Linked DNA regions of Homo sapiens: region 1 is linked to region 2. Evidence: promoter capture Hi-C in human tissues and cell types (Jung and others, 2019). All regions are on one chromosome and are shown on one strand. The core of a region is centred on a gene start or on the middle of the fragment in contact, and the rest is flanking DNA. Distances in the headings are between cores, read along the strand shown. Region 1 has its middle 40 kb from the start of CABS1. Region 2 holds the start of CABS1 (calcium binding protein, spermatid associated 1).

What was found. Contacts are between HindIII fragments. The study calls those that stand out against the background at their distance.
Region 1: a fragment that was not itself captured here is called in contact with the fragment with the promoter of CABS1 in region 2 in 2 of the 25 tissues and cell types used here (small bowel and thymus).

What each region holds. Positions count from the first base shown.
Region 1 is chr4:70,291,138-70,298,768 of GRCh38, forward strand. No RefSeq gene overlaps it. Among named protein-coding and RNA genes, the nearest start is that of CABS1, 40 kb to the right of the region's middle. The HindIII fragment of the contact is 6,538 bases long and covers 1-4,837 here.
Region 2 is chr4:70,332,180-70,338,959 of GRCh38, forward strand. It overlaps CABS1 (calcium binding protein, spermatid associated 1), which reads left to right and starts at 2,802. Exons shown (of 2, transcript NM_033122.4): 1 at 2,802-4,167; 2 at 4,787-4,937. The coding sequence starts at 2,861. The coding sequence ends at 4,048. The HindIII fragment of the contact is 3,576 bases long and covers 1,260-4,835 here.

The DNA.
Region 1 (7,631 bases), core at 319-2,818, 42 kb before region 2:
TTCCAAGTAAAAGATGAGATATGTTAACTTGGATAGGATGCTGCTAATGAAGATGATCAGAGGTGAACTGATTCAAAACACTATCTAGGAAGTAAAATGTAGAGAGGCTCTAGTGACTGATGGACATGGGAGGATAAGAAGAAAAGTCAAGACTGACTCAGGATTCCAGATTATACTACTAGGTAAATAGCATACCATCTACTGAAAGGGGGAACACAGGAAGACATTCTATTTTGTGGGGAAATATCATGATGTAAACTGATTCAGTTCAGACTCAGAGAAAAACACCAAGTGGTTTCAAAGTTTTCTGATTATGGTTCTAAAATGGATCTGTTGGCACCAAGGCCAGTGAAACTGATGACCCTACCATCACTGTCACAAGCTACATGCTCTCAGAGATTTTGTGAAACTTATTTATATTGAGTTTCCCTAAGTTAACTACAGACCACTTTTACTTTCCCTTTTTCTTTCACAAAATTCTGGTGCCAGAAGCCGTTTGTTCTGTGTACTTGTCTTAATAATCTGGCACCATGGAAACAGTGTCCATTTTCCACCAATACTACTGTCATATTAGGAAATCAACGTTGTGTTCCTCAGAATTAGACTAGCACAGGTCAGAAATAGGTTTGATTATTCAATATATTTATTGCAATTTGTAGGTCGTCTAACAATGATGACTTATCAATAAGAAAAGTATGGGCCAGGCACGGTGGCTCACACCTGTAATCCCAGCACTTTGGGAGGCGGAGGTAGGCTGATCACTGGAGATCAGGAATTGGAGAAGAGTCTGGCCAACATGGCGGAACCCTATCTAAAAATACAAAAATTAGCCAGGTGTGGTAGCGGCTGTCTGTAACTGCAGCTATTGAGGAGGCTGAGGCATGAGAATCGCTTGAACCCGGGAGGCGGAGGTTGCAGTGAGCCGAGATCATGCCACTGCACTGCAGCCTGGGTGAGAGAGTGAGACTCCATCTCCCAAAAAAAAAATAAAATAAAATAAGGTTTTATAAAATATTTTCAGAAGAACATGCATAGCATCCTATAGACTAAAAATTATAAACTAGATAGAAGAAGAAAGGAAAACTCAAATAATATCACAGAATCTTAGAATCTCATGGAACCTGTTCTTGGAACATAATAATACATAGTACACCATGTCATACATCATACATATAGGAGTTGAGTTCTATAAAGCTGACCCCTGAATTTAATAGCACACTATGTACCTTCCTAGAACTCTCTATCCCACAACCACTGGGATTATCCTAAATGATGGGAGTTGGGAGGGGATGGCAAGTGGGATGTGTGTGGCACTGAGTGGGTACTGGGTGGGTGAAGAACTTCTTAGTTATGTACAATTCCTAATCAAAGATGAAATGCTTTCTTCGGGTAAGAATTTAAATAAAAATATTAATCTCATTAGCAAACTGAATGGGAAAACCTAATTTTTTAGTAATTGCAAAGAATGATGATATTTTCAAAAAATGTATCTGTTAAGTTTTAATTTCGTATCCACATTTTAAGTTTAACTTCAGAAAAATATTTTTTCTTTATTCTTAAAATACCAGTGAAATTTGTATTTGGTATCACCTAGCAGTTTGGTTAAATTCATTCTCTCACCATTTATTCTTGGTAGATTGTATGTCTAGGAATTTATTGATTTCTACTAGGTTATTCAATCTTTTGGCATAATTTGTTCATAGTAATCTCTTATGATCTTTTTATTTCTATGGTATTCATTGTAATGTCTCATCTTTTATTTCTAATTTTATGTATATGAGTCTTCTTTCTTTTCTAAGTTAATCTAGATAAAGTTTTGTCTATTTTATCTTATTAAAAAACCAACTCAGTTTCATTGATCCTTTGCAATAGAGATCTTTTGGATTCTCTATTTCATTTATTTCTGCTCTGATCTTTATTATTTTTTTCTTATTCTAATTTTGGGCTTAGTTTTTTCTTTTTCTAGTTCCTTGAGGAGTTAAGTTTTTTACTTGAAGTCCTCTTTTTTATTGATATAGGCATTTATTGCTATAAATGTTCCTCTTAAAACTTTTTCTACAACCCATACGTTTTGGTATGTTGTGTTTTTATTTTTGTTTGTCTCAAGATTTTTTTTAATTTCTTGATTATTTCATTGGTTGTCCCATAGCATGATGTTTAATTTTCATGTATTTGTGAATTTTCCAAAATTCCTCCTGTTATTGATTTCTCATTTAGTTTCATACCATTGTGGCTGGGAAAGATACTTTATATAATTTCAATCTTCTTAAATTTTCTAAGACTTGTTTTATGGCATATGATCTATCCTGGAGAATGCTCTATGCATGCTTGAGAAGAATTGTGTACTGTTGCTGTTGGATGAAATGTTCTGTATATGCCTGTTAGGTTGATTTGGTCTGAAGTGTTGTTCAAGTCCAATAATTTTTTATTTATTTGACCTAGACAATCTGTCCGTTGTTGAAAGTGGGGTATTAAGGTTAGAATTTGTATCATTTTATAATGTATATCCCTTGACAATTTATTTTAGCTATAGTTGTTATTAATAATTTTGTCTTTTAACACTCACACTGGTGAAATAATTGTTTTATGGACTACCATTACAGTCTCATGGTATTTTTAATGTGGCTCTACATTATTTATACCATTGAGTTTTGTGTTCTCATATGTTTTATGTTATTAACTAGTGGCCTTTTGTTTCAGCTTAAAGAACTCCCTTTAACAGTTTCTGTTAGGCTGACCTGGAGGTGATGAACTCCCTTAGCTATTGTTTGTCTGAGCAAGTTTTTATTTCTTCTTCATTTCTGAAAGACAGCTTTTCTGGGTAAATTATTCTTAATTGGCAGTTTTGCTTTTTTCCTCCAGCACTTTGAAAATATCATTACACTCTCTCCTGGCTTAAAGGATTTCTGCCAATAAATCCGCTAGTAGTTGTATTGTGACTCCTTTATACATGATATGTTTTTTATTTCTTGCTGCCATTAGAATTTTTTTATTGTCTTTGACAGTTTGATTACTAGTGTCTTGGTGAACTCTTTTTTGTGCTAAATTTAATTGGTGACTTCTATGCTTCTTTTACATGGATGTTGGCATCTATCCCCAGATTAAGGAAGTTTTCAGTCACTGTTTCTTTAAATCTGCTTTCTGGCCCTTTTTTTTTCTTTATTCTCCATCCTATTATGCCAAGTTTGGGTCTTCTTATGGTGTCCCATAATTCCCATAGACTTTCTTCATTCTTTTTTATTCTTTTGACTTTTTGGTCCTTTGATTGGATAATTTCAAATATTCTATCTTTAAGTTCACTGATTCTTTCTTCTGCTTGATTGAGTCTTCTATTGAAGCTTCCTATTGAATTTTTCCATTTAGTCTCCATCTATAGGATTTCTATTTGGCCTTTTTGTTGCTTATAATTTTGTCAAACTTCTCACTTTGTGTATGTTTTTCAATTTTTTTTAATTTTCTATGATATATTCTCGCAGTTCATTGAGCTTCTTTAAGAGGAGTATGGCAAATTCATCATCAGTTATTTAATAGATCTCTTTCTTTAGGGTCCATTATTGGAGTTTTATTAATTTTTTTGGCGGGGGGACTTACTATAATTCCTGAATTTTCATAATTCTTGTGTCCTTGCATTATTGTGTATGCAAATGAGGAGACAGCCACCTCTTCTGGCTTTTATGAGTGTTCCTTGGCAGGGATAGACTTTTACTATTTAGTTTAACCTGTGACTCTGAAGGGTCAGATGGTGACAATGCCAAGAAGGAAGTTTGTTGTGAATTATCTATTTGGCTGAACTGCTGTCTTTGTTCTGATGTTAGGTTGGGCTGCTGGCTGTGCCCCCACTCACTCAGAAGACCAGGCAAAGCTGATGGCTAGGTACTGTGATGGCATTTGGTCAAACTGAAAACAGGATGTATTCCCTGGTTGGGTGATTTGCTAGTTAAGACCTGTAGTTGGACAGATATACAGGCTGGGGTCCAAGGTTAGGCAAAGAGCTTTGAACATGTGGGACCAGAGGCTATTCTCCATAGAAATGCATGATTGAGCCTGTAATCCCAGCAATTTGAGAGGCCGAAGTGGGCAGATCACCTGACGTCAGGAGTTTGAGACCAGCCTGGCCAACATGGTGAAACCCATCTCTACTAAAAACACAAAAATTAGCTGGGTGTGGTGGCAGGCACCTGTAATACCAGCTACTCAGGAGGCTGAGGCAGAAGAATCACTTGAACCCAGGAGGCGGAGGTTGCAGTAAGCCGAGATTGCACCACTGCACTCTAGCCTGGGTGACAGAGCAAGACTCCAAAAACAAAAAAGAAAAGAAAAGAAAGAAAGAAAAGAAATGCATGATTGACTATTGCTTCCCTGCCTTGTTGGCACAAGGAGGTGGGCTTTGTGGCTGAGCTGAGCCTCTCTTTGGCCTTGTGGGTCAATCAGTTCTAGCCCCTACAATTGGCATGGAAGTGCATGGAAGCAGACATTTCCCTGCTTCAGCAGAGCTGTAGAGTGAGTTTTGTGACAGGGTTGAGCTGCTCTTTGGCTTTCCAGCTCAAGCAAGCCTAGTAATTCCTACACTCCAAAATGTGCAGAGGTGGGCAGCTCTCTGCCTGGGCAGAGACATGGGGTGGGCTTTTGGCTGAATCAAGCTGGTATTTGACCTTAAAGAATGAGAGAATTTAGCCCCATGCTTCTCCAATAGGCACAGAGGTAGGCATCTCCCTACTAAGGCAAGGTCACAGGGTGGGCATTTGACTTAGTAGAGCTGCTACTTGGCCTCCCAATTCAAGCAAACCTAGCCCCTATGCTTCTCTGAAATGCATGGAGGTTGATGGACAGACTATTTGGCTAAGCTGATCCACTCTTAAAACTCTTTAAACTATCTGCATACTTCTCTGAAACATACAGAGGCAGTTGTCTCCCTGCCTGGGCAAGGCTAGGCATGCAGACTAGCTGTTTAGGGATTCATGCCAGTTGAACTTCCCACCATGCCTCTTAAAGTAAACAGCTCAGCTTTGCAGGTGGGCTATGTAGTTAGCTGATATCTCTGATAGGGTACCACAATTGGTAGCAAAACAGAGGTGTCACCAAGATCTTCATGTTGGTCTCTGTGAGCCCTGCTTCCTTTACTTTTTTCTACCTGACTCTAGGAGGTCTAGCCAAGCCATTACCCCAGTGTTTCCCATTTCTTTTTCCCCTGTAGAAACCCTGGGCCCAGGGAAGTCCTGTCTGTGTGGCATTGTTCTAACTTGAGGGAGGGGGAAGGGCAACACACTTCACGTGAGACCATCCTTCTTACCCTTCTAATTTAGTTTAATTTATTTTCATCCATTTCTATGGATTATGCAGGTTTCCCAGGCCTGTTTCCAAGTATTGGGGTTCTTATAAAGAAGTTATAGTCTGTGGATAATTGCTAGTTGAACTTTCTGTTGGGGGAGTAAAGTCTGAGACTTCCTATTTCACCATCTTGTTCTATTTTAAGTTTATATTGCAATTTATTCTAAATTAAAATACATTCAAAACCAAAACTCCTCCTAATCTAAAGAACAGACCAGCTACAGCAACTAAAATGAAAATATGAAACAATAATTGATTCAATGCCTCTCTTGGTAATATCTTCTATTCTCTGCCCCTGCAGTTCAGTGAGTGTCAGCAATAACAGCATCAGGCAACAGGAAAGACAATCAATAGTCAGCAGTCCAAAGCTCCCCTGCCAGGACACCATAAAGCAGATCTTCATTCACACAGCTCTTAGGGAAACCTCAAGCCCATTCTCATGCCTCTGCCTCACCTGTCCATAGATCCCCCAAAAGGGCTTCATCGTCACCTTTCAGTATTCAAAAATCAAAGTCTCTACCTGCTAGGGCTGCACACCTTTCTGTACCAACTAACAAAGCAGCCAAAGCAGCCAGCCAATCAACCTCTAATTCTAGGACATCAAGTAAAAAGAAAATACCTGTCCAGTCATCAAAGTCTACAAGTTAAACCTAAGGAAATTACATTGACCACTCTCAAGAAAGGATTGACTTTCCATTCATCTAGTCTAACAGGACAAAACACCCCACTGAGGGCAAGCAAAACTCTGAAACAACCTAAAAAAAGTCAATGGAAAACCACCAAGAAACAGTCAAAATGGACCCCAGCAACACCAAAGCCATTTCAGCTACAAAGAAAAGTCCAAAAACATCCAAGAAAATCCAGTCCATGCCAGCTAAGAAACAAAACAACCCACAATTAGAGCAGCTCCAAAAACATCTCAACCTAAGAAAAAATCTCTAAAGACCCCTAGAAATGCTTTGTCTACATCATTCAAAAAAACAATCGTCTAAGTCCACAGCAATAAAAGCTTCCCCTAAAACCTCTTCGACCCTCAAAAAAGAGCCAACTAAATTTAAAAATACTTTGTCTTCATCTGCAAAACAAAAATTAAATCAGGCAGCAGTAGCTAAAGCAATCCCCCAAAAAACATTAGCCAAAAAGAAAGCTCAAAATAAACAAAAAAATATGTGGCTAACTCCAGTAAAAAAAGATCCAACTAAGGCAACAGCAATGAGGGAAGCTTCCAAAGCCAAAAAGAAAAATCTAACTAAATCCAAAAAGGCAGCACCTACACCTGCCAAGAAAAAGCTAATTCAGCCAGAATCAGTTGTAATGAAAAGGAAGACACCTACAGCCAAAAATAAAATGTTAAAGAAACCACAAAAAACCTTTACTGCACCTGCCAAAAAACAAATGAATCAGCCTAAAGCACTTAAATTAGTACTAAACACACAACCAGCCTCTAAGAAAATACCAATTAAATCTAAAAGTTCCTTATCTAAAAGTGCCAAGGAACAGTCAAATCAGGCAAAAGATGATAAACCTCCAATTCTCAAAAACACTGTGGTCAAAAAAAAAAAAAAACTTAAGAAAATCTAAACTATTTCAATCTACACCAGCAAAGAAACAGCAGCATCAGATAAGTCCAACCAAACCAGGTGAAAAATCAGCTGTGGCCAAAAAGAAAAATATAAAGAAACCTAAAAAGTCTTTGTCTAAATCTACCGATAAACAGCAAAAGCAGTCACTTAGCACAGCCAAAAACATGTGGAGCAACTAGCAAACTCTAAGAAATACTATAAATAGGCTATCAACATCTGCCAAAAAACTGTTCAATCAGCCTAAATCCACTGAAGAAGGGCCAAAAAGATCTCCAGCCAAGAAGAAAATCAAAAAGAAACCTACATCTGCCAAAAACCAACAGAAATGGCCCACAAAAGGTATAAAGACTACAAAAACACATCTTGCAAAGACCAAATCTGTAAAACTACCTCAAAAAAGACAGACCACATCCCCAACAGCAAATAAAAGACTAAGTAACTTCCAAAAGAGACAATCTAAACCTTCTAAGAAAGATGTGAATCAACTTAAACCCCTTCAAGGAGTAAAAAGACAACCTCCTTTAGCAGGCAAAATGGAAAAACAATCTAAAAAAGGACAATCTGCATTTCCCACAAAAAGATTAAAATTATCTGAACAAGAAGGATCTAAATCTGTTCAAGACACATGGAAAAAGGTCCACAAAGCAAAAGGAAACCTTTCCCTAAAGTCACAAAAACACTGTTATCACATTCTCATGCCTCTGTTCCATCTAAATCTCC
Region 2 (6,780 bases), core at 1,552-4,051:
ATATCATACTGAATGGGCAAAAACTGGAAGCATTCCCTTTGAAAACTGGCACAAGACAGGGATGCCCTCTCTCACCGCTCCTATTCAACATAGTGTTGGAAGTTCTGGCCAGGGCAATCAGGCAGGAGAAGGAAATAAAGGGTATTCAATTAGGAAAAGAGGAAGTCAAATTGTCCCTGTTTGCAGACGACATGATTGTTTATGTAGAAAACCCCATCGTCTCAGCCCAAAATCTCCTTAAGCTGATAAGCAACTTCAGCAAAGTCTCAGGATACAAAATCAATGTACAAAAATCACAAGCATTCTTATACACCAACAACAGACAAACAGAGAGCCAAATCATGGGTGAACTCCCATTCACAATTGCTTCAAAGAGAATAAAATACCTAGGAATCCAACTTACAAGGGATGTGAAGGACCTCTTCAAGGAGAACTACAAACCACTGCTCAAGGAAATAAAAGAGGACACAAACAAATGGAAGAACATTCCATGCTCATGGGTAGGAAGAATCAATATCGTGAAAATGGCCATACTGCCCAAGGTAATTTATAGATTCAATGCCATCCCCATCAAGCTACCAATGACTTTCTTCACAGAATTGGAAAAAACTACTTTAAAGTTCATATGGAACCAAAAAAGAGCCCGCATTGCCAAGTCAATCCTAAGCCAAAAGAACAAAGCTGGAGGCATCACACTACCTGACTTCAAACTATACTACAAGGCTACAGTAACCAAAACAGCATGGTACTGGTACCAAAACAGAGATATAGATCAATGGAACACAACAGAGCCCTCAGAAATAATGCCGCATATCTACAACTATCTGATCTTTGACAAACCTGAGAAAAACAAGCAATGGGGAAAGGATTCCCTATTTAATAAATGGTGCTGGGAAAACTGGCTAGCCATATGTAGAAAGCTGAAACTGGATCCCTTCCTTACACCTTATACAAAAATCAATTCAAGATGGATTAAAGATTTAAACGTTAAACCTAAAACCATAAAAACCCTAGAAGAAAACCTAGGCATTACCATTCAGGACATAGGCGTGGGCAAGGACTTCATGTCCAAAACACCAAAAGCAATGGCAACAAAAGACAAAATTGACAAATGAGATCTAATTAAACTAAAGAGCTTCTGCACAGCAAAAGAAACTACCATCAGAGTGAACAGGCAACCTACAACATGGGAGAAAATTTTCGCATCCTACTCATCTGACAAAGGGCTAATATCCAGAATCTACAATGAACTCAAACAAATTTACAAGAAAAAAACAAACAACCCCATCAAAAAGTGGGCGAAGGACATGAACAGACACTTCTCAAAAGAAGACATTTATGCAGCCAAAAAACACATGAAGAAATGCTCATCATCACTGGCCATCAGAGAAATGCAAATCAAAACCACTATGAGATATCATCTCACACCAGTTAGAATGGCAATCATTAAAAAGTCAGGAAACAACAGGTGCTGGAGAGGATGTGGAGAAATAGGAACACTTTTACACTGTTGGTGGGACTGTAAACTAGTTCAACCATTGTGGAAGTCAGTGTGGCGATTCCTCAGGGATCTAGAACTAGAAATACCATTTGACCCAGCCATCCCATTACTGGGTATATACCCAAATGAGTATAAATCATGCTGCTATAAAGACACATGCACACGTATGTTTATTGCGGCACTATTCACAATAGCAAAGACTTGGAACCAACCCAAATGTCCAACAATGATAGACTGGATTAAGAAAATGTGGCACATATACACCATGGAATACTATGCAGCCATAAAAAATGATGAGTTCATATCCTTTGTAGGGACATGGATGAAATTGGAAACCATCATTCTCAGTAAACTATCGCAAGAACAAAAAACCAAACACCGCATATTCTCACTCATAGATGGGAATTGAACAATGAGATCACATGGACACAGGAAGGGGAATATCACACTCTGGGGACTGTGGTGGGGTTGGGGGAGGGGGGAGGGATAGTATTGGGAGATATACCTAATGCTAGATGACACATTAGTGGGTGCAGCGCACCAGCATGGCACATGTATACATATGTAACTAACCTGCACAATGTGCACATGTACCCTAAAACTTAGAGTATAATAAAAAAAATAAAATAAAATAAAATAAAAATAAATGAAAAAAAAAAAAACAAAAAACAAAAAAAGAAAAAAAAAAAAAAAAGACCCAAACAGGCCAATAACTATTAGTTATTATCTCTACTGAAAAAGTGGGACTTCCTGTTATGAATAAGGGAACTAACTGAATTCCCTGCTACCTAATTACCTTCTGTAGCTATACTTACTGACAAAAACACCATTAATTTTTTTAGATACCAATTTTTTTTAATACTATGAATCTTAAGGGAAAATGGCTTCACCTCAAAAATACTCTGTTACTTGCTTGGAAGATAGACGACTTTAAGCTGATGCTGATAAACTTGTGGCTTCCAAAGTTTTCCTTACTAATTCTAAACCCAAAAGGTGCCTGGCAGTCTCTGCTATGTCTGTTTCAAGTAACCCTAGCTCTATATCAGGAGACATTTTCCTTATAAACAGAAACATGGTAAATCTTAAGTTCCCTGCAATTGAAATGCTTGGCTGTGAATTTGATTTCATAATCAGAGCGGACTCTATAGTCTTTTCATTCAATATTCCTGCAATTAGATAACCAATCGCAGCCTAGAAACAACCTCCAAGGAGACCCAGTGACATTGCTCCCATAGTTGATGCAACAATCACCATGATGACCCAAGCTTTAATCACTCTGATGAACACTGCTCTCCTGCCTAGAGATACCACTGAGTCCAGAAGCAAGACCTGTGAGAGTGCACAGTGCCACTTCGCCCCATGGCTGAAGATGGTTTGCCCAAAATTTATTCTCATCCTCCAACAGAAAGCAGTAAAACACCAACTGCAGCAACCATTTTCTTTGGGGCTGACAATGCTATTCCCAAATCAGAAACAACTATTACTTCAGAAGGAGACCACGTCACTTCAGTAAATGAATATATGCTAGAAAGCGATTTTTCAACAACTACAGACAACAAACTGACAGCTAAAAAGGAAAAACTCAAATCAGAAGATGATATGGGGACCGACTTTATTAAGTCAACAACTCACCTACAGAAAGAAATTACCTCTCTGACTGGCACTACAAACTCCATAACAAGAGACTCTATTACCGAACATTTCATGCCAGTGAAAATTGGGAATATTTCATCACCAGTTACTACTGTTTCTTTAATAGATTTTTCCACTGACATAGCAAAAGAAGATATCCTCTTAGCTACCATTGACACAGGAGATGCAGAGATCTCAATAACCTCTGAAGTCTCTGGCACACTAAAGGACAGCAGTGCTGGTGTTGCTGACGCTCCTGCCTTTCCACGTAAAAAGGATGAAGCTGATATGAGCAATTATAATTCCTCCATCAAATCCAATGTCCCTGCTGATGAGGCTGTCCAGGTCACTGATTCCACTATTCCTGAGGCTGAAATCCCTCCTGCTCCTGAAGAAAGCTTCACTACTATTCCAGACATAACTGCCCTTGAAGAAGAGAAAATAACCGAAATTGACCTAAGTGTTTTAGAAGATGACACCAGTGCTGTGGCTACATTAACTGACTCTGATGAGAAGTTTATCACTGTGTTTGAACTCACTACCTCTGCTGAAAAAGACAAAGATAAACGGGAAGATACTCTGCTAACTGATGAAGAAACTACCGAGGGAGCCAGTATTTGGATGGAGAGAGATACTGCAAATGAAGCAGAGACCCATTCTGTTTTGCTTACTGCTGTTGAATCCAGATATGACTTCGTTGTCCCTGCATCAATAGCTACAAACCTAGTGGAAGAATCATCTACAGAAGAAGATTTGTCTGAAACTGATAATACAGAGACTGTACCTAAGATCACTGAGCCATTTTCTGGAACTACCTCTGTATTAGATACCCCAGACTATAAGGAAGACACCTCCACAACTGAAACGGATATCTTTGAACTACTGAAAGAAGAACCCGATGAGTTCATGATTTAAAAGCAACAAAAGGGATACCATGTAGAATTGTGCAATAGTCTAGCCAGCTAGCCTTAACATCTAAGAAATTTTTCCAACAAGCAAAAACCTTTAGAAATGAAAGAATGTGGGCATTTAAGGCAAGTATTCGACTCAATAAATGCAGATGCTTAGGACTACAGGTCATGTAACAGATTTACGGAAACTTAGAAAAAAAAACCGCAGTGTAAGGGTCCCCCTAGTATCACAAAGTTTCAATATTCTAACAATTACTTAATGTAAAATTTTTCGTCCTAGCCTTCAGGGAGTATGAAGACAGAGCAATGTAGGGGCTCATTTCTACAACATTTAATGATGCATATCATTTAGTTAACAGTCAATATTATACTTAAGTGAGAATTAAGGATATGAAGAGAAGCAAATTAACCTCTCCAAAACATTACCATAGCCTAAAAAGTTCTCCCAAAATGCTTGTTCTAAGCAATTTTTTCATTAGTATTTCATCAGTGATTCTCTTCTATTTAAAAAATTTTTAATCCTCATATAAGAATTAAGACAATTCAGTAATTGTTTAGCACCCACATGTAAGATACATAAGATTTATGATAGGGTTCTTGGCACATGTTAGATACAAACTAAAGCAAAATGATATTTTACAAATATGCATATTTGTCAGAAAAATGTTCTGTAAACATATACATCAATTTAATTTTCTTTCTGTTAAAATGTGTTTTCTGAATTTTTGTCCATGTTTTCCAGGTCTTAAACACTGAATATCACACTCTTCTTATGACTCTTGTTAGCGATTCAAGGACATAAATCTTCATTCTTTTCTGGCACAGACTACTTAAATGGGTCTGTTTTCACTTTGCTCATTTTTCTTCAATAAATCTTTTTGGCAAGCAACTGATTTACTGTGTGTAGGTGTGTTTGATATTCTACTACAGACTTCTCAAATTAGGAGAAATAAAGAGAAATGAAAATTCATTGTTTGTTTAAAGAATAATATAGCTCTAATCCCCAGAAGTAAAATTATTCTATAGAGATTCATAATTGTATTACACTAAAAAAAGAAATAAGAACAATGCCAAAACACCAAGTGAATGAAAGATATTATGTACGGGGGGTTTGTATAGGGATTTGCACCATTAGATAAACTATAGACTAGAATAATCACAACAGTGTGTTAAAACCCAGAAACAAATTACGAAACAAAAATTTGTTATACAGTGAAGTGGACTTCAAAAACATGGGATATAATAGTTAATCTTACTTGAACAATCAGTATTTGGGAAAAAAATATGTTGGAATAATAAACAAATTTTTAAATTCTTTTTAAGACCATACTTTAAAATAAATTCTACATGGATTAAATACTTTAATGTAAAAACTAAAACCATACAAAAACTTAGGAGGAAATGTACCTGTATATCTATCCAAATGGACCTGAGAAATGTAAGCATATATGAAAAGGTGATAAGAAGATTGATAGGTTTGACACCATGAATAGTTAAAATTCTGAAACAAAGAAAATTAACATAAAATTAAAAAGTAAATAACTAATTTTATTTTACATAGCAGTGAAAAGATTACTATCATTTTTCTATAAAAGTTTCTACAAAGTATTTTAAATGAACAGTAGAAATTAACATAATTCATGAAACACAAATTGTTAATGAACATGTGAAAAATATTCAATAGACATATTCAAAAAATTAAAATAAAGCTAGTACACATCAGTTTTAGCCATTTGAGGATTGACAGTGATTATTGTACATATTCATTGTTGACTCATTTTCCAAACTTTCTCCAAATTTCTCCAGCCTTTCTGGAAGGCTGGAAGCCAATTTGGCAATACATGTAGCAAGCATTTTAAAAATTGGAAGTTTTGGCCCAGTTATTTTACATATTTTACATATTTTAGCCCTGAGAATTTTCCTAAGAATCAGAAACTATTAAAGTTCCAGCAGTTATTGAGCTCTGACTACTGGTCAGCATAGTTGTGTTTATATTTAGAATAACATTTGATCCTCATGATACCCTAGAAGGAGAAACATTACTATTCTCATTTTAGTGATAAGGAAACAGAAAAGCTACTCAACATGCACCAAGCTTCAAAGTTAATATGTAGCAAAGAACGCTTCTAACCCAGGCAGTCTTCATCCAGAACCCATGCTCTTTTAATCACTATACTGTAGGGGCCCTCAGATTTAAATACAAGAATGTTGGCAAACTCTTACACTGAAGAATGTGATTTTACATGTTCATAAGGGAAAAACACTGAAAACAATCTACAATTGTAGTCACATGTAATTAATTACACTTCTGTATACCCATATGAAGCCATAGCTTGCATCTTTTAAAATGGTTCTAAGGAAGAATATTTAATCAAATGGATGATATTTTCATACAACTCTAAGCAAATTTACACAGTGGTATGTATGCAATATACACATGCACACACATACACACGCAAGCAGAATGTCTGGATTACATATATCACAATATATAATCTCTAGGAAGGACTGCAGGTGATTTTGTTTCATTCTCTGTGCTTTCGTGCGTTTTTAAATGCTCTCCAATCATCCAGAACATAAACTGTACACAGGAGAGGATGAATGTTTGTCAACCCCATTAACTAGAAAACCTGGAAGCCAAGCTAAATCTTTCACTCTTACTTGCTTCCCATACCCAATTAAAATATTACAAGTATTTTGAGTGTTCCCTATGTATCAGACACTACTTTATTTTTC